7 separate regions of the Homo sapiens genome follow, and all the other regions are linked to region 7. Evidence: promoter capture Hi-C in 16 types of primary human blood cells and fetal thymus (Javierre and others, 2016). All regions are on one chromosome and are shown on one strand. The core of a region is centred on a gene start or on the middle of the fragment in contact, and the rest is flanking DNA. Distances in the headings are between cores, read along the strand shown. Region 1 holds the start of LINC00970 (long intergenic non-protein coding RNA 970). Region 2 overlaps NME7 (NME/NM23 family member 7). Region 3 overlaps NME7 (NME/NM23 family member 7). Region 4 overlaps NME7 (NME/NM23 family member 7). Region 5 overlaps NME7 (NME/NM23 family member 7). Region 6 overlaps ATP1B1 (ATPase Na+/K+ transporting subunit beta 1). Region 7 holds the start of DPT (dermatopontin).

Evidence for each region. The method cuts DNA at HindIII sites, captures the fragments that hold promoters and counts their contacts. A CHiCAGO score of 5 or more calls a contact.
Region 1: the fragment with the promoter of LINC00970 here is called in contact with the fragment with the promoter of DPT in region 7 in 1 of 17 cell types (M2 macrophages); the score reaches 6.7 in M2 macrophages.
Region 2: a fragment that was not itself captured here is called in contact with the fragment with the promoter of DPT in region 7 in 1 of 17 cell types (naive CD8 T cells); the score reaches 5.6 in naive CD8 T cells.
Region 3: a contact is called between a fragment that was not itself captured here and the fragment with the promoter of DPT in region 7, in 1 of 17 cell types (M2 macrophages). The highest score is 5.0, in M2 macrophages.
Region 4: a contact is called between a fragment that was not itself captured here and the fragment with the promoter of DPT in region 7, in 1 of 17 cell types (M2 macrophages). The highest score is 5.3, in M2 macrophages.
Region 5: a fragment that was not itself captured here is called in contact with the fragment with the promoter of DPT in region 7 in 1 of 17 cell types (M2 macrophages); the score reaches 6.2 in M2 macrophages.
Region 6: a fragment that was not itself captured here is called in contact with the fragment with the promoter of DPT in region 7 in 3 of 17 cell types (M2 macrophages, M0 macrophages and M1 macrophages); the score reaches 9.6 in M2 macrophages.

Annotation. Positions count from the first base shown.
Region 1 is chr1:169,085,320-169,089,184 of GRCh38, forward strand. It overlaps LINC00970 (long intergenic non-protein coding RNA 970), which reads right to left and starts at 1,686. Exons shown (of 5, transcript NR_104091.1): 1 at 1,636-1,686. The HindIII fragment of the contact is 14,978 bases long and covers 1-3,865 here.
Region 2 is chr1:169,218,867-169,223,047 of GRCh38, forward strand. All of the region lies in intron 10 of NME7 (NME/NM23 family member 7), which reads right to left. Among named protein-coding and RNA genes, the nearest start is that of ATP1B1, 110 kb to the left of the region's middle. The HindIII fragment of the contact is 1,974 bases long and covers 1,401-3,374 here.
Region 3 is chr1:169,157,707-169,161,775 of GRCh38, forward strand. All of the region lies in intron 11 of NME7 (NME/NM23 family member 7), which reads right to left. Among named protein-coding and RNA genes, the nearest start is that of ATP1B1, 53 kb to the left of the region's middle. The HindIII fragment of the contact is 836 bases long and covers 1,429-2,264 here.
Region 4 is chr1:169,177,760-169,181,628 of GRCh38, forward strand. All of the region lies in intron 10 of NME7 (NME/NM23 family member 7), which reads right to left. Among named protein-coding and RNA genes, the nearest start is that of ATP1B1, 73 kb to the left of the region's middle. The HindIII fragment of the contact is 3,651 bases long and covers 1-3,309 here.
Region 5 is chr1:169,139,375-169,143,063 of GRCh38, forward strand. All of the region lies in intron 11 of NME7 (NME/NM23 family member 7), which reads right to left. Among named protein-coding and RNA genes, the nearest start is that of ATP1B1, 35 kb to the left of the region's middle. The HindIII fragment of the contact is 2,342 bases long and covers 1,212-3,553 here.
Region 6 is chr1:169,118,263-169,122,120 of GRCh38, forward strand. The region is part of intron 2 of ATP1B1 (ATPase Na+/K+ transporting subunit beta 1); the gene reads left to right. Among named protein-coding and RNA genes, the nearest start is that of ATP1B1, 14 kb to the left of the region's middle. The HindIII fragment of the contact is 4,833 bases long and covers 1-3,858 here.
Region 7 is chr1:168,727,213-168,730,932 of GRCh38, forward strand. DPT (dermatopontin) reads right to left here and starts at 1,994. Exons shown (of 4, transcript NM_001937.5): 1 at 1,658-1,994. The coding sequence starts at 1,962. The HindIII fragment of the contact is 3,243 bases long and covers 1,356-3,720 here.

The DNA.
Region 1 (3,865 bases), core at 436-2,935, 360 kb after region 7:
ATGTTTTTAATCCTAACTTTAATAATCAGAATATTAATTTTTAATTCAGAAGTAAACCTTTAAATGCTGTTTCCAACAAACCTCCAAAAGCCAGTTTCAGTGACATCCAGAAACTCCTATCAAAATAAGCAATTGCCATAGTGTGTGATAAGTGCTGTAATGAGGGAAAGATAAAATACTATATAGGAAGAAGTGGGAGAGATGGAATTTCAGAGTGTCTAAGAGGGACCTTAAGGAGGAGGACTGGGAAGGCCAAGAAAAAGGTGTGAAGATTAAGGGAGGGAGGGAACAGCCAAAAGGAGTTCATTCCTTTACAAATTCTGAGTATGCACCAGGCACAAAACCAGGGGTTGGGGCTCCTTCCTGCTTGGAGCTCAAGGCCAGGAGGTAAGAGGGAGCTTGGCATCTTGAAGGAAGAGAAAGAACTTCAGTCTGAGTGCAGCCCACCCTGAGAGGGTCAGAGGAAGAGCCCACTCACTCCCCCTGGGTGGGTGAGCCTCCAGGCGCTGGTGGATGTAGGTCAACTACTAAGATGGTGCAGAAACCAGAAGGCCCTCCAACAACTGCTCCTCCTCCTTCAGGAAGTTCTTTGCTTAATTTATTTTTGCTTTGGGGGTCAGAAGCCTATTTGTAAAGCATTTAAACTTTGCTGGGACTCAGCTACTCAAACTATCAGCCCTTCAGTCCAGCATCCCTGAAGCCTAAACAGGCAAGAAGCTCATCTTTGGCTTCAGCCTGAGGTCATGGGCTGCAGGAACCGGTGGGATCTGTTTATCAAGACCACTGAAGACCTGCGGGAGGAAGGATCTTATCTCAGTGTTGCCATGGGGACTGCTGGCTGGATTGACTGAATGCTCTGCAGAAAATGACTCTTTTTTAGAAGAGAAAATAGTTGCTATTTTCCAAAGGCTAAATGTGGAGTGAGGTGGCAGTGAGGGGGAAAACAGAAGGCCTGTGAGGGTAAGAAGTGGGGACCAAGGCCAACTCTGGCTAAAGAAGAATGGGGACAGGCTGCTCCAGGACTCAAGAGCTTGAGATTCATGCTAACCCACTCCAAGAGTTCAGGCCTCCACCAGAGGACATGGCTCTATTCATACAAGAATTTTATACAGAAAATAGTAGATCTGAGATTTACAAAACTCATTTTCAATTTCATAGGCTACAGCCTTCAGATAACTCCAAGTCACATCACATGTCTAATAGTTGTCTCAGAAAGAAGTACCCAAAAGGCATTTCCTCCAAAGGTCCTTCAGAAACTGTGAAATGGGCTCTATTTGAAGAAAACCATTTCCATCAATGTGCGCAGAGCCTCAGTATGAGTGTGCAGCACAGCTGAGCCTGTCATCCCTCGGAACACAGTCTGGGATTGCCTGGTGGCTGTCTGGCTATAAGGACTTTGGACATTATCCCCAACTCCCCATGGAAGAATTTTCCCTGTGTTTCCCACCAACAATACTGAGCCAAACTGCTTTTGATGTCCCCGGAGTTATCTGATCACCTAGATGACACTGAACAGAGCAAGATGACTAGGAGACAGCAGCTCAGCCCTGACATCTGCTCAAGGCCAGCAGCAAAAGTTCCAGGAGTTATATGAGCCACTAGGTCCATCCAATCTACCATCTGTCACTGGCTTACCTTGCCACCTTGGGTCACTGACTTCCCCACTCTGTGCCATCTGTGAAATGTGCATAATAGCACACCAAGTCCTTCTGTACCTCCTCCTTCTTCTCCTGTTCTCTCTCCCTCCCTGCTTCCCTCTCTCCCTTCCTCCTCCCTCCCTCTCTCCCTTTCTTTCTCTCTCTCTACCTCTCTTCCTATCCCCCTCTCTCTCCTTCTCTCTTTTTCCTATAGAAGAGAGATGATGTGTTTGTAAAGTGCTTTGAGCTCCTTGGAGATAGAGAGTCTATAAATATAAGCTGTTATCACTGTTACCATGGAAACACACACAGACAACTGTGCTCTGTTTCTGCATTTGCTGAGCATAATTCTGGCCTTCTTGCCCTGCTGGCTGTTAAACAATCAATGGTTTTACAAAGCTCAACAGCCAGGTAATAGGTGGAGCCTCAAGGCTGAACTTATTTGCTATTCAACTCTTCTTCATGTGAATTTTCAAAAACTGTGTTTCTGTTTGCTAAGGTAGAGGATCGTATAAGATTGGCCAGAGCCAGCTGTTAAACCAGGGATGCAAATAATGACAGGCATAGGTATGCCACCCAACCCAGGACCCTGATCTGTAACAAGGGAGAATTCCAATGAGCTGCAAAAATAATATTCTACCCATTTCCTAAATTTACTCCAACTCCTAACTCCTCAACTTTACAACCAGAGCTGGCAAAATGTTGGAATAAAGAGAGTTATGAGTTTGCACCCTTCTGCCAATTTGTGACCATCTGAAAAGCAGGGGCTATATCTTTTTCATTATTGTCTCCACAGGGCCTAGCACAGTGCCTGCACATAGCAGATGCTGCGCAGAGGCCTGTGGAAAAAAAAAATGAATAAGCGAGTTATAAATGGCTGTTGTTTTCTATTACACAGGTAAAAGTGTTGTTGAGTGAGGTATGCCGTCAAATGTTGGCTTGGGCCTCGGGATCTCAGAGGACATCAGTTTTGGCATGGCCAATCTGCTTCCTTCACCCTACCATCATAGTGAGAACAACGATATCACTTCACTTCTAGTTTAATGGGTGGTCCTGGGAAAGTTGCTCTGTATCTGAAAGCCCCATATAGAATGACGTAACCTAGTTGTTAACCAGACAACTGAAAGATCCAGTGCAAAAAGTGAAAGTGTGAAAACCATAGGAAAAGTCCTTTTTCCTCTCAGGCAATGCTGTGATCTCAGGGGTAAGTTTTCCAGGCCTCAGTTAGGAATGCAGTGAAATGGGAATGGGCTTTGGACTCAGACACATCAGAACTCAGTGTGTGAGCTCTGCCACTTACTGACCTTCCTGAGCCTCCCTTCTCCCATTTGTAAAATCAGAATAATAGCACTCTCTCACAGGTTTGAGGTGGCAGTTAAACAAAATTAGTATATAAACCCATAGCTCAGTGGCTGGCACCAGTCAATGATTTATGCATGATCATTCCATTCCATTAGTTTGCCAGTATGTATGAATATCCATTTATTTTGAATACTTCACTTACTAGTTTATTCTAAAGGCCTGGCAGATGTTTCAGGTCCCACTAAGATGAGTGTATGTGATGTCTCTGCCTTTGGAAAGCCGGATTGGAGGATGTGAAAGGGAGAGAGAAAATGCTCAAACACAGACAGGGAGTCGGGACCTGCTACATAATTTGCAGAGTCCAGTGCAAAATGAAAATGCAGGGCACTTGCCAGAAAATTTATTAAGAATTTCAAAAAGGTGACAACTGAGCATTAATCCAAGCAGGGGGTTCCACTAAGCTAAGGACGCCGTGTAACTGCATAGATTGCACACCGATGAAGTCAGCCCTAAAGCCAGGGCAGAGGTAAACTGGTTTCCAGGCTTGGTACAGACGATATACTGATGAAGTAAGTACAGTGAGTGATGCAGTTTCATGGTGTTACCCAAATGCTGTTTTTGTCATCAGGTAGCTCTAATATGATCACAGAGGACAGAGGTATTTTTTCTACAAAATACTTGAATACATGGAATTCATATTCTAAGCTAAACCTAACTGATAGTAAAGGTCATTTCAGGAGGAAAACACTTACAAAAACAAGCAAACTCCTATAGGAGTGGTTATGATTGCATAAAACACATAATAATTGTGTTCAGAGATTCAAATTGTTCCTGTATCATTGTTCATAGACGATATGGGGGAGAGGTCAAATTACAAAGCGTACAAAGCATTTATCTACTTACACAATTGCTATTTATTAAACCCC
Region 2 (4,181 bases), core at 1,138-3,637, 490 kb after region 7:
ACGTGAGATACCACTTTTGAATGCAACTCCATCCTTAAGATAAATGCCCTGGATCTTAAATACAACTTTTTCTCCTATAAGGGTGAAACTTCTTGCTGAAGATCCAGACTTTCCTTAGGGAAACTTGAAGGCAGATGGGAGGAGCTTTAATTTCCTATAAGTAGGAGCTCTTCATTTCTCTGGAACTTTCCTTCTTTGCCAAGCCAAATTTAACTCCTTCTTTAAATTATAGCTCCAGGCATCATTTCCTCAGGGAAGCCTTTTCTGAATAGCCTATTCCCTAGGCCTCAGCCCCACCCCACTCAACACAGACTGGGTTGGGTTCCTTCAGAGTAAAATCAGTCCTCCATATCCATGAGTTAATGCATCTGCAAAGTCAACCAACCACGGATCAAAAATATTTGGAAAAATAAAAAAATTGTACAAAGTTGCAAAAAGCAAAACTTGAATTTGCCATGTGCTAAGTACTACATTGAATCCACACAAATTAAGTGATGTGTAGGCATTGTATTAAGTAGTAATAGTAATCTGGATGTGAATAGGTTCCACGCAAATACTATACCATTTTATATAAGGGACTTAACTATGCGCAGATTTTGGTGTCTGAGGGGGTACTGGAACCAAGCCCCCAAGATACCAGAGGATGGCTGTATTTCCTGAGCATTCTGTACTTCTCACTAAGATAACCTTTATCATATCTTATAATTATTATGACTTGAGATAGGATCTCACTGTGTTGCCCAGGCTAGTCTCGAGCTCCTGAGCTCAAGTGATCCTTACACCTCAGCATCTAAAGTAGCTGGGACTATAGGTATGTGTCACTGTACCCAGCCTACAATACATTATTGCAATTTATTTGTCTGATTCTCCCAGTATACTGAGAGCTTCTTAAGGGTCTCAACTCCTCTTTGAATCCCCAATAAATAAACATGATATCAGGTTCATAGCAAGTGTTTAATAAATGCCTGAATTTATGAATAGATAATGACAGTTGAAATAAATAAATATTTACTCTAAATCTCCTATTCTGAAATGCGTTCCAATATACCTTATATGATGAAGAAGCTACAGAAACTTGATGGAAGGAAGGCTAAGGAGACCTTCCAAGACAGCTTTTTCCTCATTTTTTTATCATTTTGGTTTGCCTCCTTCATGAAAGATTTTCACAAATCATGAGTTTGAACACGGACTTACATTTCAGTTACGCATGTTTTCCCCAACCTCTATACTTTAGCTTTCAACCCATATGTTGTTTTGAGAAGTGGGCCTGTACTTAATACCTCTACCTGTAAATAATTCCAATGAAAGGATAACTTATAAAGCAAATGAAAAGTTAATTAAAAAATAAATCTAATTGACCTTTTGTGGATGTGGGTGGAAGTAGTTTAACTGTACTTCTAAGCTTTTATAACTTAATATAACATCTATTTAAAAATTATAAGTGAATATAAATAAACTTTATTACAGTTCAATTTTAAGAGGTATACAATTAAAAGGTAAATTATTTAGAGTGATTAACCATCCCACTTTTCCTGGGATTGGGGGATTTCTCAGGATGCTGGTCTTTCAGTGTGAAACCTGTGACAGTCCTGGCCAAATTGGGAACGGTGTTGGTCATCCAACTAATATACGACATTGAGATGAGGGTTTTCTTTCTTTTTCTCGGTTAGACAAATGTTTCTTCATTAAACACATGATCATTTTCTCCAGGATTATTTTGTAATCACTGAATCACTTAATAGGTATTACAAGTTATTGCATGCAAATCACTTCAAAGAAAATAAATTACTAACACATAACTTTTTTTATATATACTCACTGTACTTGGATTACTTTCAATTTTCTTATGTTAAAATGCATTTAAACCACTTAATACTTTCCTGAAAATGTATTTTTAAATTATTTTTACATTTGCTAAAGTTAACAAAATGCTTATAAAATAAATTAAGTTGATTACCTAAGAAAAATGTTTCTTTTACTATAAACTAGTAATAGAAATGCTTGGCACATGTTAATCTGTGGATATGCCTGTTATCTCTGGTTAGGTATAAATGCCTTCTCTAAGCGTTGTTATGTACTAAATTGACAGGCAGGAATATGAATTCACCTTCCATTTTCTCATCAATAGAGTGAGATAAAATCATAATAGAGTAGAGAGAACTCTGTTTTATTCCATTTCTACTCCGTAGAACTAAGGATTCTTCCATTTCCCTTTTTCTATTTCATCAATTTAACCTTCATCTACTCATCCACTTAAGATAAAGAGAAAAAAGGTAAACACATGGTAAATAACACCCGACTATTTCTCACCATGTCTATTACCACCATCCTGGTCCAACTCACCATCATCTTGTACCTGGATTATAACTTCCACTCTTGTCTTTAGACTATTCTCAATACACTAGTAACAATGATTCTTTTAAAATCAAATTATGTCACTCTTCTCTCCAAACTCTTCAATAACTTATGGTCCCAGTTAGAGTAAAAGCTAAAGTCATTATGAGGACCTATGAGATCTGCCCTGTCCCTCATCTCTCTGACCTTATCTTCTACCTTGCTCATTACATGGTGTTTCTAGATTACCTCAAGCAAGCTCCTCTCCCAAGGCCTTTGCACTGGCTGTTCCTTCTGCCTAGGATGCTCTTCACTGAGAAATCAGCATGGCTGGCTTTTTCAAGAGCTTTATATGTATATATGTTTACATATATTTATACATATTCAAGTCTTTATATGCATACAAATATATGGAAATATATTTGTATACCTATATACTGTGTGCCAGGTAGTATATGTGCCAGTAGAATATATAAATATATTTATATATATTTATATACACATAAACTTGAACACACATGTGCACACACCCAAATTTTTTTGAGACAGAGTCTCACTCTGTCAGTCAGGCTGGAGTGCAGTGGTGCGATCATGGCTCACTGCAGCCTTAACCTATTACAGGCATGTGCCACCATGCCTGGCAACTTTTGTATTTTTTGTAGAGATGAGGTTTTACCTTGTTGCCCAGTCTGGTCTGTTGTTGTTGTTTGTTTGTTTTATTTTTGTTTGTTTGTTTGTTTTTAAATAGAGACAGGGTCTTGCTATATTGACCAGGCTAGTCTTGAACTCCTGCCCTCAAACAATCCTCCCACCTCAACCTTCCAAAGTGCTGGGATTACAAGCATGAGCCACTGTCCCTAGCTAAATGTTTTCTTAAATATCACTTTCTTAGTGAGCCCTTCTCTGATGACTCCAACTTATAATCAAATCCTATCTACACTTCCTTAACTCAGGTTGCTTCCTTTCTTCATTTTCCATCATATGAAATACTATGTATTCTATTTTTTATTTGTTTATTATCTGTCTCCAACTAGAATGTAAGCTTGGTGCCCTGTGAGGAGATTTTATCTCTCTGTCTCTCTCACTTTCTCATTTGTTTTGTTCACTGGTGTATCCTTGGTGCCTAGAATACTGCCTGGCACACAGTAGGCACTCAAACATTTATGAATGCATGAATGATTGAAGGGCAACTATGAAGTCCTGTAAGTCAGCTTTTCTTAGCTTCCTGGAAACTAAAATTCCAAAGTTGAAATTTTCTTTTAAAATAAAAATAATGAAATCTGTTTAAAAAGTAAAGGAAAAGGAAAAAACCCCAAGGAAATGGTAATATATTGATTCTGAATAGTAATTTGTGTCTCAGTGTGACCAAATTGACCAGACCTGCTTAGAGACTTTGTTCTGTTAAGACAATAGAGGAACCCCGGGCTGAGACCTCAGGACTATGGCGAGGAGAGGAAGGAGCTAAACAATATAATCTATTTCTTTCACATTTTCAGTGGAGCTGGCCTTGACTTCACAGACAATGACATTTTATTTATTTACTTATTTTTGAGTTGTAAAAACTTGACATTTTAAGTTTTATTTTGAAAGAACTGTAAATTTATAGAAAAGTTACTAATAGACTACAGATAATTTGTTTTTGCTATGAATCGTTCAAAAATAAGTTGCTAATCTGATGCTCCACTACCTCCAAATATTTTAGTTTATATTTCTTACCAACAACTACAGCCTCCTATATAACCACAATACAGTCTTCATACTTAGACCCTGGTGAGGTTTCACTAATTATCTCAATAATGTCATTTATGGCCAAAGTATCCTGACTTGGAATCACATGCTGCATTTAG
Region 3 (4,069 bases), core at 597-3,096, 430 kb after region 7:
ATTGATCCTTTCAAAGTTAAGAGGCTGCTGCTGCTTCCAACTGTCAGTTAAGTCCTGAAAGCAAAACAATCCCTTTGCTGGCCTTCTCACAGGGTCTAGGCTTTCCTCAAAAGCAGAACCAAAGCCGACTTCGAAGAAGTCTGGTGTATGTCTTCTTTTGAGAAGTGTCTGTTCATGTCCTTTTTGATGGAGGTTTTTTATCTTTTTGGTAAATTTGTTTAAGTTTTGTATAAGTGCTGGATATTAGACCTTTGTGAGATGCACAGTTTGCCCAAATTTTCTCCCATTCGATAGGTTGTCTGTTTACTATGTTGATAGGTTCTTTTACAAGTTTTAAAAAAGTCTGGTGTGCCCCTACTCACTGGGACAGTGGTTTCTAAATGCTAGTTTAACTATCAGCCATATCAGAATATCAGAATCACCTGCAACATAAAATACAGTAGTGCCCCCTTATAAGTGGGGAATATGTTCCAGTTCCCCCAGTGGATGCCTGAAACTGTGGATAGTACCGAACTCTATCTATACTACGTTTTTCCATATGTATGAGAGATAAAGTTTAATTTATAAATTAGGCACAGTAAGAGATTAACAATAAAATAGCATAATTATAACAATATACTGTAATATTTCCTCATACTACTCAGAACGGCATACAATTTAAAACTTTTTATTTTTTAATTTTTGCAACCCTGCTCTTTAAGGTACCATACAATTTAAAACTTATAAATTGTTTATTTCTGGAATTTTCCATTTTATATTTTTGGGCCATGGTTGACCATGGGTAACTGAAGCTGTGGAAAGTGAAACCATGAATAACGGGGCTCTACTCTATAGATATAAGGAGCTCATACCAGACCTCCTTAACCAGAATCTTCTATAATAGGGCTCTAGGCTTACATAGTTAAAAAAAACTCTATAGGTGATTTTAATGCATGCCATTGATTGGGAACCGCTGCACTAGGACGGTAGTTCTCAAATTTCATGGGCATCAGAAGCACCTGGAGGGCTTGTTAAAGCACAGATTCCTGGGTCAAATCCCCGAGTTGCTAAGCAGCTGGCCTACAGTGGACCCCGAGAATTTCATTTCCCCTAAGTTCTCAGGTGATGCAGCTGTTCTGGAGCAGGGGAGGACACATAAGAACCACTGCACTAGGGATTAGCTAGGGCCAGTTCCATTGGAAGCCTGTTTACTAGCTAAATGCCTCTTGACCACCTGGAGAAGATACTGCTTTTTACCTTTCCAACATTCATTCTCCCTTTCTTCCTTCTAACAGTATCTTGATTTTTGCTAGTGGGAGCAATGTTCCCAAGTAACAGAACTACATTTACTCACTTCCTTTCTAAAAAGGGGCGGCCACAGTACTAAATCCCAGCAACAACAAAAATCATAACCTGAAGCTGTTGGGTGAGGGCTCTGGTTTTTGGAAAAGCTTAAAGGTGGGCGAGGGAGGAAGTGTTAGCTCAGCTGGCATTCTTCGCCTTTTGCCCTCACTCTTCTTTCTTTATGCCTGGAAAAAAGAAGTGATAACTCGAGTTCTGACAACCATTCTGTGGCAACAAGGCAAAAAGCACATACTAAAGATGATGACGGTACCAAGGAGGAGGAGACTGGGTGACTGATGGTATTACGGAGTTGCCATACCAGTCCCACATGCCTACCTTCAGATCTCAAATTATGGGGCGGAAAAATAAAAGTTCTCATTTTTAAAGATGATTTTAAGGTCTCTATTTACTAGTGACCAGAAAATTAATTATTAATTTGTCACACCCCAACCCACCAACATGGAGGCCATTATATTCACCTCTTTTCTCCGATCCTGCTATTCTCACATGGCTCTGAGATTCTTCTTCCCTTCCCCAATCTCTAACTATTCCTATTGCTTTCTGCAGAACTTCAGTGCCATTGTAAACTCCCTTGAAACTTGAATCTCTTCATAGGCCTCTTAGCCTTAAATGAAACTTGGATATCCCCTAAGGGCATCAATTCCTTGGAGTCCGCAGGATAAGAATCTCTGGCCAGGAGGGTAGGAGTAGTTCTATCCTTTGTCCCAGTGCTACTTTAAGACCTCCTCCCCTTATATATGAACTCCTGACTTTTTGAGGCTTATGCCATCTGGCTAGATCTTTTCTCCTTGTTGCTGTCACACCTTTGGTTCACAAACTTCCCTAGTTTGTGAAAGACTTCAGAATTTGAGTCACCATTTTCTTCTCCACCCTACCTCCTAACCATGATCCTAGGTGATTTCAATGCCACTCAACATGAAAGCTTCTCTCAGTTCCTAGACTTACATATCTCTAGTGACTGATACTGATCTCCACTCCACACTGGCTACCTCCTTCCATGGCCACACCCTGAATCATATCATCCATTACCATGGAAAGCTCCACTTCTGAAGTGTACAGTGACACAGCTCTTTCCCTGTTATTCCTGGGGTCTCTGTAGGTACCTTAGAAAAGCATTCGGTCCCTTGGCCCATCTACTTTATCCCTTTCTTCAAGCACCTCCTGCCATCACATCTTTCCTTGTTTATAACTTCAACTATAGTTGCTAACATCCTCAATTATCTTTCCTCATCGTACCCTCCTGTAAAAACCTCACCCCTGGGCCAAACTGTTCACCAGAAAATAATAACACCATAATACATGTAATCTCCTAAATCAACTGAATTGTAAATACAACCCATAAATATATATTCTGTCATCAGCACTTTCTCCATGGCCACTTCAAACTTTGTCTACTATCTCTTATTCAAGACTCCTGGTACTAGATGTTTTGGAATTTACAATAATAATCTGGAATATATAGTATATATTATATAATACTCCAAGGGGTCTGGGAAGTCACTCATCATCAAATACATTAATATTTTTACAGCAGTGTGAAGAGTCACACTAAATAGGTTAAATAAAAATGATATACATTAAATGTTTTGTCAAGCTACTGAAACAAAACTGTTTAATGATACACAACTTGATATAAGACAGGTTAGGTTTTACCATTAAACTTATGAAAAAACTTTGGTTTTCAGACATTTTTAGATTATTAGATTTTGGTAACACAGATAAAGATGGTACTATCACGTTTGCTTGGGGATAGGCATTAATCTGGATTCATTCCCACAGGCTACCTTTCACATCCAATTAGTCTCTGAGGCTTTCTGTTCTACCCCACTAAATGTCTTTTGAAGCTCACTGCTTCTGGCTATCCCTTCTGCCATAGCAATTCAGGAAACCAGAATTTTCTCCTGAATTACTTAATAGACTTCTACCTAGTCTCTGTCCCCCTAGACTCCACCCACTTGTTTCCCTGCCTGACCCCAGGGCCCTTTCATCTGTTCTCTATACTGCAGCCAGAGTGACCTCTATAACACAGGTATCATTGTGCTATTCCCCTGAGTAAAACATTTATTTGGATCCCTAATGGCCTCAAGATGAAGTTCAGTTGTCTTAATATGACTTTACGAGGCCCCTGCTGATGTTTCCAGCTTTATCTCTTGCCATTTTCTACCTCCTGGTCAAAGCCCCAGTCTTACTGCACTATTTTTAGATCTCTAAGAGAAAGCTGTTTGCTTTTGTATTTGTACAAGTTGTTCCCTCTTTGACAATGTACTACTAAAAATCACAACTCTTCTTCTTTCAAGATAGAAGCTAAAACTAAAGATAAATTATGAGTGTCAGTATGTGCAGAGGCCTGCGTTAATCACGGCCAAGAAATTGGGGCCTGTCCAATCATCTTAGTCACCATGCACCTATGTTTATTTCTGATTAATCCTTGATTCACTATTTTTTCCCCCAGAGTGTACCAGAATAAGAATCCATGCAGAAGTAATTATGTATCCAAATTCAGATTTGATCAACTACTTATGAAACTGACTTTGCAAAGATTATGACAGTGAGAGGAGTCTAGCATAGCTGACTCCATCTTGCTTCTGGCCTCACAGACTGGCTGTCTTCACTCATTCCTGGGTGTCAGCCAAGCTCACCATGAGAGGAACTTAGTCTATAGTTTAACCTGAAAACAAGAACTAACCCCTTCCTGGCTAGGGAACTGAAAACTGTCTTTGTAAAA
Region 4 (3,869 bases), core at 234-2,733, 450 kb after region 7:
TTCAAAGGCACCAAGCTCTTTCCTACCTCAAGCATGAAAACACACAGTATTTCCCTTGGCTCAGCAATTCTCTTTTTTTGTTTTTTGTTTTTTTTGAGACAGAGTCTAGCTCTGTCGCCCAGGCTGGAGTGCAGTGGCGTGATCGCGGCTCACTGCAAGCTCCGCCTCCCAGGTTCACACCATTCTCCTGCCTCAGCCTCCTGAGCAGCTAGGACTACAGGCGCCCGCCACCACACCCAGCTAATTTTTTTTTGTATTTTTAGTAGAGACGAGGTTTCACCGTGTTAGCCAGGATGGTCTTGATCTCCTAACCTCAGGATCTGCCCGCCTCGGCCTCCCAAAGTGCTGGGATTACAGGCGTGAGCCACCGTGCCCAGCCTCTCCTCTTTCTTAATAATTGCCTTACAAATGGCTTACAATAAGCAACAGAAATCAGATGTGATCGATTCTACAGAGTGACTCTCTCAACTCTTTATTCTATCCTCCTTCTAGATGGAAATTAGAAATCTAAAAACTACATTCCCCAGACACATTTTTGGCTAGAATTCTTGCGATGTGGAAGTCCTAAATGAGATTTGGAAGACAGGACAAAGCAGAAGCTACCTTCTTGCTAATGTTGCTACAGGCAGACAAGGTAGGAGACACAAGTGTTTGAGTTGTGGCAGACTCAATGCCTAAGTCACTGCCATGGTAGTAGCAGTGGAGGCAGCAGCAACTTCAGGATTCTAGGTATGGGAAGGTACTCTTGAAATCAATAGCTCCAGTGGCAACTCCTGACTTAAGGCCCTGCAACACTTAAGAAACTTAAGTTCGTAAATAGCTACTTCCTTGAATCGAACTCCTTTAAAAAACATCCCTAAGCTGGTTTCTGTTTCTTGAGCTGAACTCTCAGTGATATTCTGAGGCTCCATCTTTCTTCCTCATCTCTACAGAAAGCTGTTTTCCCTGTTCCCACTTAGTAAGTACCTTTTTGCTATCTGGTTTTCAGCTTTACTGCTCTATTGAAATTGCTCCCTCCAAAGTCACCTATAATCAATTAGACTTCTAGCTGAAACCTCTTCTTTTTTTTTTTTTTTTTTGAGACAGAGTCTTGCTCTGTCACCCAGGCTGGAGTGCAGTGGCACAATCTCAGCTCACTGCAACCTCCACCTCGTGGGTTGAAACAATTCTCCTGCCTCAGTCTCCTGAGTAGCTGGGATTACAGGCATGTGCCACCACACCCGGCTAATTTTTGTATTTTTAGTAGAGATGGGGTTTCACCATGTTGGCCAAACTGGTCTCAAACTCCTGACTTCAGATAATCTGCCCACCTCGGCCTCCCAAGGTGCTGGGATTACAGGCATGAGCCACCGCACCTGGCCTAAAACCTCTTGTATAGCAGTGAAGTTATAAAAGTACCATCAGAAATAATGGATCTAATACATGTGGCCAAAAAACATATGAAATAAAGCTCAGCATCACTGATCATTAGAGAAATGCAAATCAAAACCACAATGTGATACCATCTCACACCAGTCAGAATGGCTATTATTAAAAAGTCAAAAAACAACAGATGCTGGTGAGGTTGCAGAGAAATAGGAATGCTTTTACACTGTTGGTGGGAATGTAAATTAGTTCAACCATTGTGGAAGACAGTGTGGTGATTCCTCAAAGACCTAGAGGCAGAAATACCGTTTGACCCAGCAATCCCATTACTGGGTATATACTCAAAGGAATATAAACTGTTCTATTATAAAGACATATGCACCTGTATGTTCATTGCAACACTATTCACAATAGCAAAGACATAGAATCAACCTAAATGCCCATCAATTATAGACTGGATAAAGAAAATGTACATATACACCATGGAATACTATGCAGCCATAAAAAGGAACAAGATCATGTCCATTGCAGAAACATGGATGGAGCTGGAGGCCATTATCCTTAGCAAACTAACGCAGGAATAGAAAATCAAATACCCGCATGTTCTCATTTATAAGTGAGAGCTAAATGATGAAAACACAGGGACACATGGAGGGGAGGAGGGGAGCAACACACACTGGGGCCTGTCAGAGGACCAGGGGTGGGAGGAGGGAGAAGATCAGGAAGAATAGCTAGTGGATGCTGGATTTAATTCCTGGGTGGTGGGATGATCTGTGCAGCAAACCACCACGGAACACATTTACCCATGTAACATGAACATTTACCCCTGAACTTAAAATAAAAGTTGGAAAAAAAAAAAAAGGCATGTCAGTCAAAGAAAGAAACAATGGGTCTAACAAACTGATCTTAGTACAGTTATATCCAATTTATAAAATAACATAGAGATTTTATAAAATTTAGGTTTATTTGTCCTAGAGTAGCAACATTAGTCTCAGCAGTTAGTAGAAAGATTTTGGTGCCTTTAAAGGCCTAGCTTCAGCGTTATCTGGCTGAATTAATTAAGATAATGCCCATAAAATGTCTAATGGTGTCTGGCCAAACTGGAGGCATTTAGTAGATATAATCATTGTCTTCATAGTATTATAAATAAACTCATAGCTAACAATGAGGCACTTATATAGTACTTGTGTTTTTAAAAGCATGTACTATTTCACAGGAATCCCACAAATCCCCTTGTCAGCACAATTGCTGACGAGGCAGACAGTTTTTGCCTTTTACAGATATGGGTAACTTGGTTCTACGGACAGTCTCAGACCTCCTATCCAGCAATGAAGAAAGAGTATATCCAAAGATCCAACCACTTGGGGCAAACTCTCTTTAAAGGTTAATTTCCTAAACTGCCGCATGTCTTCTATGATTCCCTTTAAAGTTGCAGTAAGCAGCTAAGATTCCAGACCAAGGTGAGCATTTTTTGAAACCATCTAATCTTCTCCTATAATTACCAATAGCAATGTTGTCAAAAAGAAATGTAATGTGAGCCACCTATGTAATTTAAAATTGTCTAGTGGCCACATTAATAAGAAGTGAAATTAATTTTAACAAAATAATTTATTTAACCCTATATATTCAAAATACTATTTCAGTAGGTAATTAATAAAAATTATTAATGAGCTTTTTTACATTCTTAATTTATGCTAAATTTTCAAGTCCTGGGTGTGTATTTTGTGTATAATACATCTCAGTTAGAACCAGCCATGTTTCAGGTGCTGGAGAGCTATATGTGGCTAATGGCCATCATATTGGACAGTAGAGACCTAGAGAATAGTAGCTCTCTCCCAGGACCGAGGTTTAACTTCTGAGCAACATTCTACATTAAGGGCTGAGCCAAGACTAATAATATCTGCAGTATTAACCTCTCTCATGCTAATGGAAACCTTGAACATAAGCTTGAGGGCAGTCAATCTAACCATATTTCTCATGCTGCCATCCTAGGCTATAATCCTATCTATTTATCTATCTATCTATCTATCTATCTATCTATCTATCATCTATCTACCTACCTATCTATAATTTATCATGTCTGTTGCCCACTTATCCTCCACAGCTGGCATTGCCAATGTTCGTCATTATCCTCAAGGCTCCATCCTCAATTACATGTTTTCTCTCAGCAACTTTGTTTCCTGCTTCACAGAAAAAAAAATTAAGACTGATATCAAGAGATTCAGCTCCCTCAAATTCCTACACACACACACACACACACACACACACACACACACATATATACACACACATTATCCTTCCCTTCCCCCTTTCCATTCAGTGCCAAAGAAAGTGCCATTTCTTCTTCTTTTGATAATTAACCCTCCCATCTCTTTGCAACTCTAGGTCAGGAAACTTCCTTCATTATAATTACCTTTCGCCTGTGTTTTCAACCTTTCTCTTTTCAAGTTTATTTTATGCATCCTATCAAAATGCTCATGTCTCTCCCATCACTTAACAAATAG
Region 5 (3,689 bases), core at 1,133-3,632, 410 kb after region 7:
TTTGCCTAAAGACATATCACTTTGTTAAATGTCTCTGGTTCAGCCTGTGCTGGTTCAGAGCTCACACTAGGGATGTAGCCTGGCTGTTGGAATTTGACTCCTAGCCCTGCCATCTCCTGGCCAGGTAACCTTGAGCAAGTTACTTAACTTCTTTGTTCCTCAGATTCCACATCTATAATGTAACAATACCTACTATGTAGGTTTGTTGTGAAGTTTAAATGAGGAATTATATGGAAGACATTTAAAATAGTGTCCAGCATAAATATTGCATAATAAATATCACTATTATTGGTTTCCAAATATTCTCCTAATGTTATGGCCCATCCTGCTGTATGTCACTGAACCCAAGTATCTCTGAATAACTCCATCAAGTGCTGACAGCCAGAACTGTCAATTCCAGCTTATCAGATGATAGCATACATAATTATTCAAGTCATGAACAGCAGAGGCAGACTAAGAAAACTTTGAAAACTAAGATAGTAAACAGACGTGAGAACCAAATGCAATATGTGATCCCTGACTGGATCCTGAACCAGAAACTATTTTTCTTCTTTTGCCACAGAAGACATTTGTGGGTAAAAAATGAAGGTCTGTACCTTGATAATAGTATCGTATTAATGTTAACTTCTTGATTCGCAATCACTTTCTGTGGTGACTGTAGATAATATCAGTGTTTTTAGGAAATATACACTGAAGTATTGAGAGATAAAGGGGAATTACATCTATAACATACTGTTAAATATTATAAATAATTAAATTCATATGTACAGAAAGACAGAAGAAAGGATGATTAACATGGTAAAATATTAACATTTGGCAAATATAGGTAAAGGGCTTGTGGAAAGTATTTTTTTAAACTTTTCTATAAGTCTGAAATTATTTCAAAATGGAATGATAAAAATATTAATCAGTAGAAAGAACAGAAAGAGTACTAGATTTGGAGTTGGAAGAATTGAGTTTTATTCTAGCCACTATTTCCTAGTGCTCTTAGGCAAATCATTTAGACTCTCTGAGCCTGTCTCCTAATCTAAAAATTGAAGATAATAAAACCTACCTCATTGGATTTAGTGGGCATGTAAGTTTCTGGGTGAATTTATAAAGTTGTAGCACATTATACAAATAATACTTTTTTAAAAAGGACATATGGCCCCATGTTCCCACTCTGAAACTAGTAGCCCAGGATGGGCTCTGCTACAAATCAGCTACAGTAAAGCTTCAGGGATGGGTTTTCTCAGTTATGAATGCCAAGCAAGCAGAGGGGAAAAACTCAGGTGACCTTGACACTTCCTCTTAGAAATTCATTTTGTGGCTCCCAGAGAAGAAAAGATTTTGACAGGGAACAGTCTATCCTTAAAAAAAAAAAAAAAAGATTTCAAATAAAAGAAATTGTAGATATAAAGACCAGTTCTCAAGATTGGTGATTTTCAACTTGGTTGTACATCACAATCACCCTATGGATCTTTAAAGAACCAAAAAGTAGATGCTTACACCCCCACCCTGGAGAGTCTGATTCATTAGGTCTTGGGTAGGTCCTAGACGTCCACATTTTCAAAGAGCTTCACAGACACTTCTGATGTCCACTGGGGTTGAAAGCCACTGCCCTAGTATTGTTTATAAGGACTAAATAAGATCCTTTATACATAGTGCTCAATAAACATTAACCCTAATCTCATCTTTTCCTTTCTCTGTGCCTCAGAGGAATGACAAACTGAAATTAGAAATGCAGATCTTGTTGACAAATGATTTACAATAAAGTTTCTGGATGAAGAAAAAAAAAGAAAACTACTGTCCTAGATAGTTAGTCAAAGTAGGTGCCTCCGAAATCAGAGCCCAAACCAAGCCCATCTGATATCATTATATGTGATCTGGGGAAAGAATAAAACCCCTCACTTAATTTGGCATTTACTAGTATCCACAGTACCTTGGAGGCACTTAACATGGATAATGTGCCAAGGAGACAGGTAGGCCTCAAAAGATGAAGTGGGGAATATGGGCAGAAAAGCAGAGTAAACTTCAACAGGATTACCTTGGGTATTGATAAGGAAATAAAGCAGGCTTACAAGATGAGTTTTATAAACAATAAACAGTGATTCGGGAAAAGGATCTTGGAGTATGTCCTCGTCATTCCCTGAATACTTGGGCCAAGACTGCTGTCTACGAGGCCATCAATGCTGATATGCTGAGTGTCCTCATAAAGGATGTTGTCAATTAAACCCAAGGAATTACAGTACTCTTTACAAGAAAAACAAACCACAGAATATTTTATTTCTTGGGAAGTTCCTATTGCTATACTTCATACACATTTCAGTTAGAAAAGCTCCAAGACAAAAATAATAGAGTTAGAAAATAGAAATAAAAATTTTTTAGAAGATGGAATGCCTTTTTTTTTATAAGGACAGATGAGAAAAGTGAAAAAGCTCTTAGATTGGATAAAAGCTGAGAGAATACATAATCAGAATTCATGAGATAATGAAGTGAATAGCTGGGATGGACTTTGTCACTTAAAATTGGAAAGAAATTGTGAAAGCATATGCTGAGGTAATTTAAGATTTAAGAGAAAATTACTTCATATATTGCTTCATTTAATTTTTACTGTGAAATGTCATTATTTCTACTCTTCAAGTAGATAAAATGAGTCTGAGAAAGGTAATTTTTCCTAAGTCATGAAGTTGGTAGGAGGAGAAGCTGGGGATTTGAACTCAGACCACCTGACTCCAGAGTCTGTGCCCAGAATCACTATACTCCTGGACCTCCCTTATACTTTAGATTTTCCAGAAGGCTAAGGAAAGCCTATATGGCATAGTAAGATTCAAGTTCAACTTTAAACTTTTGATTTACCTTTGAACTCAAGTTCAAATCAAGTAAAAGTCATTAAGAGCTCAGCTAACATCTTTCTATTCATCACTTCTGTATGCTCACAGCCTTTGGGCTGATTTTGAAATAGAAATGCTAGTCTTGCAATATTTTCAGCTAAGCCAGAATAAGATAAGATGTGTTGTTTTCCTAGGAATTAATTTCTCCATTTCTAGTCTTCAAGTTTTAGTAAAACGATGCTTGATGACTTACAGCAATAAATTCTTAACTGGTAATCAAAAAAGAATAAACTGTACTTCTGTTCATAAATAGAGGAAAGAAAAAGAAGCACCTGCAATTTGATAATTATAATAATTCATTATACTGCTTACAAAGGATACAGAGACAGTATGGCAAACTAGAAAAACCCAGGATTACTAGTTAGGAGAGTAATGTTCTATACACTAAGCCATGCAATTTTAGGTGAGCCATTTTCCTTCTTTGGGCAACACATTCCTCAATGGTAAAACCAAGGTGTCGGATTAGAATTTGATTTCCTCAAAACCTAGAATCATGGAATGTTAGTGCAGGAAAGGGGTTTAGAGGAGGGCCTCTCAATCTTTGTCACCTCATGGTGCACCTAGAAAATGCTCATTCTCGCATGGCATCCTGGAGCCGGCACAGGAAGTGGTTAAGGATTGGAGCTGCTGCCTCCAGGTCTCAGAGGATCAATTATTCAGCTCATTTGTAGGGGAGTCCAAGCTTTGAGAATTACAAGTTCAGCCTCATCATTTTCCACATGGAGAAACTAATGCCTAGACACATTTTATGAATTTATAACAACCCATAAATTAAAGTACATGGTATCAATGTATTTTCAGTTGTTATACTATTAT
Region 6 (3,858 bases), core at 505-3,004, 390 kb after region 7:
GGAATGATTTCTTTACCCTGAGTGTTGGTAAACATCCAGATTGGCTGTAGAGACAGTCCGGGGATTCAGTTTTCTAAGACTTTGTAAAGGGAGCAGATTCTGAGTGTCGGAGGGTGTGAATGTGACCCTGCCTGCAGGCAGGGAGATTTATTCCTTGCTAATCTCAGAGCCTGAGTCTGGGAGCTGGAGGCAGAAGGTGAGTCAAAGGTGGCTAGTTTCCAGAAAGTGCAAAGGCGCCTTTTTTCTGTGCCTCTCCCCTTACTTTGCTAGGTAAGTTGATACCAACTCACAGATGTAAAACAAAAATAAACAAACAAAATCCAGAAATATCTTAGGTCCTACAGAGTGGCACTTAAAGGAGAAATTTCTATCTCATATATGTGCGTATGCATACATATGTGTGTGTTTATGTGTACATATACGTGTGAGTATGTATGAATTCATACCTCTGTGTATTTTTTTTAAAATTGGAAATTACTTTTCAACTCGGAATGTATAGGAGACACATGATTTGTGCATGGCTACATTTAAAAGCATTTCTTTGCTTCCTGTGCCCTTCTCAGTCATATGGGTACCTTCCTGGAGGTTTCCATGGGAAATGATTCCTATTTAGAGATTTGATCTAGTGATTTATCAGATGTATTAAATGACAGGTGCAAGCAGCTGTGCATTTGAATAACTTACAAGGTTGAAATGGCTACATTCTAGTTTAAATACTTTAAACTCACATGTAGATTGAGAAATGATGAACTTGCTACATTATAAACCTAAAGAAACAAAATCCTTTCCCTCAAGCCTTTTCCCCCTTGTGCTATCAACACTTACTAAAGCTAAACATGGAGGATCTTCCTTATTTCTCAAGAGATGGGGACCAAAGGCAGGTAAATGTGTCTTTGAAAAGCAAGTGGGAAGCCAGAAGTTTTTTCTAAATCTAAATCTTATGTAAAGTTGAAATACTCATTGAAAACCAAATATTAAAATTTTACATACCCAGATTATGATTTCTGCCTCTTCAAGTGGCTTTGTTAATTAATGATATATAGCTTAAGGCAAATGATCCTATCAGAACAAAGCTGTCTCTAGAGCTCAGGGTGGTTAATGTAAATTCAAGTTTAGAAGACTGGAGAGGGAAAAGGTTAGATTTGTTTCCTGGAATATAACTTGAAATTGCGTGCCAGCGATTGGGTGTTCTGCTGTCTTTGGCCCTCTGGGAGTTACCAGTGCAAACAGAGCTCATCCTTGTCCAGAGTCATAACTAACAACTTTAAGAAGTGGGCAGTAGAAAGAGGGGCATGATGGGAGAAAGCGTCTGGTCTAGTGTGAAATATGACTCATGAGAACTCCAGTCAGCAAGGTGGGATTTGTGCAGCCCTTGGAGAATGTCATGGTTGGAGAATTTGGGTGTGGCCTCAAAATGCAGATGCTCTTCGATTTAGGATGGGGTTATGTTCTAGTAACCCATTGTAAGTCGAAAATACTGTGAGTCAAAAATGCATTTACTAACCCTGCTAAACCCACTGTGAAGCTGAAAAATCATAAGGCAAACATTGTAAGTTGGGAACTGTCTGTAATAATTACCAAATCCAATCCCATTGCTTTCTATCTCTTCTTAACAGTCTGATAATCCTAAAGTAAATGATTTAAAGGATTTGGACATCCTTTCAAAGGTCTTTCATCTTTCTCTTGTGAGTATCTAGTTGCTTTAGAGAAATAACTTGAGAAGAGGAATTTTTCTAATCTTTGGAGAAGACCTCATCAAAAACTGTCCTAATTAAGACTATCCAGAACAGAACAGACCCGGGGGCTGATCTGTGGTAATTTCCAGGAGAAGTTCTCAGGCCATCAGGCTTCGGATAAAGAAAAGAGAGGAGGCAGAGATAGTGGGTGATGGAGTGAGAGACCTTGTGGAAATGTGAGGAAAGAGAGCAGAAGAGCTACTAAGGAGGCAGCGGCCACTTGACTGTGGCGTGGCCTCCTGGACATTTGTTTATGTAGTAAGCATGTGTGAGCTGATTGCATGACCTAAACCCAGACCATCTGTTTTTTTACTGGAAATGACGTTTGGATCAAAAGCTCTGTATCTTAAATGAATGGTCATTAAGGCTTATGTTAGTTACCACCGTCTAAGACCCCTCAGACTCCAGAGGGAAACATGAGCTCACAAAACAGTAAGACATGACTGAGCTTTCTGGGGTTTATCTGTCATTCCTCGGCTCCTTCTACCAAGGTTCTCTGTTACTTAAAATGGAAAGGACAGGGCAGAGGCTTTGGCCTAGGGTCTAATCCAGCTGGGCAAGTCACAGGGTTCTAAGACTCCGTGCTTAGCTGTCTTATGTTTCACCCCTTGCTTTCTTGGTTTCACTAGTTTCTGATGCTTCTGTAAGAGCAAAGTCAAGATTCTTCAAGCAGCCTGCATCTATGTTTCCCTCACAAAGTAATTATAAACTTGACTGGCTTAGATCATGAGCTATGCTTACTGAAAAATTTGGGCTTTCAGGTTGAAAGGGATGTGATTCCATTACTTGGTTTTCATTATTTCTTATTTGCCCCGTCTAGAGAGACATGAGGCCAATTGTGTATATAACTCTCTTCTGGGCCAGTAGTACCACTTCATGTAACAGTAATACCTATTATTTTCACAAATGTGATCTTAGATATTTTTTTTCTTTCTCTTTTTCTTTTCTTTTCTTTTTTTTTTTTTTTGAGACAGAGTCTCGCTCTGTTGCCCAGGCTGGAGTGCAGTGGTGCTGTCTCAGCTCACTGCAACCTCTGCCTCTTGGGCTCAAGCGATTCTCGTGCCTCAGCCTCCCAAGTAGCTGGGATTACAGGCATGTGCTACTATGCCTGGCTAATTTTGTGTTTTTAGTAGAGATGGGGTTTCACCATGTTGGCCAGGCTGGTCTCGAACTCCTGGCCTCAAGTGATCCACCCAACTCATCCTCCCAAAGTTCTGGGATTACAGGCATTAGCCACCATTCCCGGCCATATTCCTAGATGATTAACAACAGAGGCACTTACAAGAAAGATTTGTCATAGTCTATCAGTAAACATGAACTTAGTTTTGGTCATAGCCCCTAGGCTCCTGGGGAATGCACTAGCCTTATCATTTTGTTAGTAAAGAGCCCAGAGGACTGAGTGAGAGTTGCTGATGTTTTGAGTCTGACACATGTCCCCTGGTCACTTTTAATAGTGGAAACCGTGGACTTGACATTGTGAAGGAATGAAAAGCGCTCAGCATAATACCTCCTCCTGTTCTTACTCTCCTTTTTTTTGTGTGGGAGAATCTGAGAAATGGCATCACTATTCCTCATACTCATATCAAAGTAATGGAACCTTGAGCAGCCACTGGAAGAGAGAATGCAAGCAGCCAGAAAGTGAGAGGCAAACCACTGGAGAGGCTCACTGAAGCCAGGCCAGGGAGAACAAGGATGTTTGTGACACTTGCTTCGCAATCCAGGTTTTACCATGTTTACTCTCAACATGACCTTCTAGGGTCACTCCTCCTTTCAGCTTGTTAGGTGAGACTCTCCAAATCTCAGTATCAGGCTTGTTTATATTTTGGCTTTTGCTGCATCCCGCCCTCTGCTGATGGACCACAGCTTGCATAATTGTTGTTTATCACACCAATGTCCCTATGGTCCCCTGGCTGTGGGTCTTCCCCTGACCTTCCCTGAAGGTCAGATGAGATCCCTCCTTGGTTTCTGACATTTGCTCTCCTTCACTTGTCTAGCCATCCACCACCCTCCTGCCTTGTCTTTCCCAAGCCTGGAAACACTGTTTAACCTTGTGTACATAAGTCCATTTCTGTTCCTGACTCCCAAACATCACACAGAATACTTGGAGGAGGTTCCTGCAGAC
Region 7 (3,720 bases), core at 744-3,243:
CAAACTCTTTGAAGCAAAGACTCTGTGGATCCAAACCCCAGCTTTCTAGCCGAGGAAATACTGGATCTCTAGACTGCAGTTTGTCTACCTATAAATGGGATATACCCTTGTTTTGAGCATTACACGAGATGATCCACATAAAGCACTTAGCATGGAGCCTGCTCAGGGTAAGCACTCAATAAATGGTAGCTGTTGTCATTACTTAAAGGCCCGCTCTCTTTCCTGGCTCCCCCACCCATCGGTGTTTCTTCCTCTTGGATTTCCCATCATCACCTCTCTACTGGTTGTGTCCCCCAGGGTTCTATGCTTTTTCTTTTTTCTATTTTCTTTTTTTTTTTTTTTTGAGGCAGAGTCTTGCTCTGCCACCCAGGAGGGAATACAGTGGTGCGAGCATGGCTCACTGCAGCCTCGACTCCCTGGGCTCAAGTGATCCTCCTACCTTAGCCTCCTGAGTAGCTGGGACCACAGGCTGCATGCAACTACACCGGGCTAATTTTTTTTTTTCTGTAGAGATAGGGTCTGGCTGTGTTCCCTAGGCTGGTCTCGAACTCTTGATCTCAAGTGATCCTCCCTCCCCAGCCTCCCAAAGTGTTTGGGATTACAGGCGTGAGCCACCACACCTGGCCAGATTTTGTGCTTGACCCCTCCAATCCCCACTACACTAAGTACTTGTTGCCACACATCTGGGTTGCTCTACAGATAGCACATGCAGCAGCCCTCCAGGTGGGCTTCCTCCTCCCTGGACTGCCTCCTCCGTTCTCTCCTCCAAGCCTCCTAGAGTGCTGGCTCCATCTAGGCTGTTGTAAATAATCAGCCTAGCAGTCAGTGCCTACTAGGATGAGCTCCTGACCAAGCACCTGGGCTGAGACCCAGCTGAGACAATCACACCCCACAAAAAAGTACAAGCTCGAAAAAATTCCATGCCACTGCTTAAGGCAGAATGCAGTCAGGGGAAGACAGCACCTCTCTCCAAAACCCTTTAGTAAACTATTTTCCAGCAATAAAACCCACTTTAAATTCAGGCAGAGAGAAGGACCTCAGTACTCATAATTGAGAGAGCACATTTAATCAAGGCAGTAGACAGCTATTTAATTCCACTTTCTTTTGCCTAAATGTCCTTGTCCCCTCTTTTCCATTCACTTGCTCTAAATCAATAGTTCTCAAACCCTCCGTGCTGAGAGATCAATTGTTTATTTTTCTTGTTCCCAAACTACTGTGGGCCAGTACTTTTGTAAAATGGTAAAAATAAATTTCTAAAAAAGAAAAATGCCATTCCGATGGCACAGAAAGTTTTAATTTCTATAAAGTTTATTACTTTCAGTTTCTGTACATATCTTTTGGTAGTCTGGTAAGCAAGCTTCTCGCCGACCTACACCAGCCCCTGGCCCAAACTGAGAGTAGGTAGAACAGCTTCTGGAAGGAACAGAGCCACAGAGGAGTCTGTCTCCCACAGACACTCCCCATCCCAGGTTTTTGTCCTGTCATGTAGTCCGCTCAGCAGCAGCCCTGCTCCACCCAGAGCATGCAGTGGTGAGGTTTGGGGTGGGATTTGCCCAGGCTTTGGTTACTGATATTCCTTGAGAGTCTAGCAGCCCCCAGGAGGAGGGATATGCAGAGATGTTCCCAGCCCCAGTGCAGTGCAGGGACTGGCCCTTACCATTCCATGCCAGCCCTGTTGATCTCCTCCCACCAGCACTCCGTGGGTTCCCCGAGGCTCTGTGGCGTGGGCATGCAGGCGTAGTTCCATTGTCTGTCAGAACCTTCCTTCTTGCTGAAGATGCTCCTCACGGCCACTATCACCTGCCCCTGGGGACACTGGTAGCTGAAGCCTTGCCGGTTCAAATTCACCCACCCATCATCGCTGTAGTCATGATACTGCTGGTATGGGTATCCATAATCGCCATACTGGCCCCAGGCCATGGTGACTAGGGGCAGAAGTACCCAGAGAAGACTGAGGTCCATGCTGCCTGGGATTTTGGCAAACAATGTCACTCTAAGATTGCTGGTCTGACCGTTTTATATAGCTGCCGCTGACATGTGGCTTCCAGATGTGGGTGAGAAGGATCCAACTGCAGTGTGTCATTGCTTAAGCAAAACTTTTCCATGCTGAGATGTCAGCCATAAGGACATTCAGCTTGTTTTAAGGTGGAATTCTAGGAATATACCAGCAGCATGTAAGTCTAAGAAGCTCCCTGGAGAAAGAACAACTTTGTATCTAGATTATAAAAGCCAACTGCTGCTCTACCCTGTAGAAATATTCACTTGAAAAACACTGATTAGTAGCATATTTGTCCCTCACCTTTCAGCACCTCACCCCTTTCTGTCCTACCCTACCCGCTACTAGCAAACCCCTGTATTTGTTCTCCAAACTAGCCTTCCGGGCCACACAAATACCCAGACAGTGATTTCAAAATACCGAAATCATAGACTGAAGTAACAGAGCCATCTAGGATTTCTGTAAGGCTGAATGCCTGTTTTTTTTTTTAAGTTGTCAATCCAACACTTTTTAACCCTTGAGTATAAGCGCGGGTATACCAGTTTGCAGGGCTACTCTGAGAACTCATAAGTTGCATAAGGAAGTACTATGGGCCCATGGGGAGATAAGTTGGATATGATTTCTACACTTAAGCATTCTACCATGCTGCTGAAATTGGACCCAGTCAAGTCTAGAAAGTGTGCTCTGCTCTCAAAATGTAATGGGTTTAATCTAAATAAACCCCCTATTTATCCTTCAGTATTTTTGCCCTCACATTGAATTTTCTTTTCATTGAGTTATAATTTACATATAATTAATTCACCTTTTAAAATACATAATGTACAGTAACATAGCCAGCACCCTAATCAAGACTTAGAACAGTTCCATCAATCCAAAACATCCCCTTATATCCCTTTGCAGTCAAATCTTCCCAAACACCCAGCCATTGGTAACCACTGATTTACTTTCTGTCTCTATGGTTTTGCCTTTTCCAGAATGTCAAGTAAATGGAATCATACCACACGTAGCCTTTCATGTCCATCTTTCACTTAGCATAATGCTTTTAAGGTTCATCCATTTTAAAATTCAACATCTCATTGTATGTGTTAGTATTTTGTTTCTTGTTATTGTTGAGTAATATTCCATAGCATGGATGTACCACAGATTGTTTATACATTTACTAGTTGAAAGACATTTGGGTTGTTTCCAGTTTTTGAAAATTCATTACTTTTTATGTAATGAATTTTATATTCATTATATTTTATATAATGAATTACATAAATGTAATTATAAAGTTGATATAAACATCTATGTATAGGTTTTTGTGTGAACAAATTTTTATTTCATTTGGGTCAATACCTAGGAGTGAGATTGCTGGTTCACAAGGTAATGTATGTTTAACTTTAAAAGAAACTACTGAGGCCGGGTGTGGTGGCTCATGCTTGTAATCCCAGCACTTTAGGAGGCCGAGGCGGGCGGATCACGAGGTCAGGAGATCGAGACCATCCTGGCTAACATGGTGAAACCCCGCCTCTACTAAAAATACAAAAAATTAGCCAGGCTTAGTGGCGGGCGCCTGTAGTCCCAGCTACTCGGGAGGCTGAGACAGGAGAATGGCGTGAACCCGAGAAGCGGAGCTTGCAGTGAGCCGAGATTGTGCCACTGCACTCCAGCCTGGGCTACAGAGCGAGACTCCGTCTCAAAAAAACAAAAAAAAGAAAGCAAGAAACTACCTAGCTGATTTC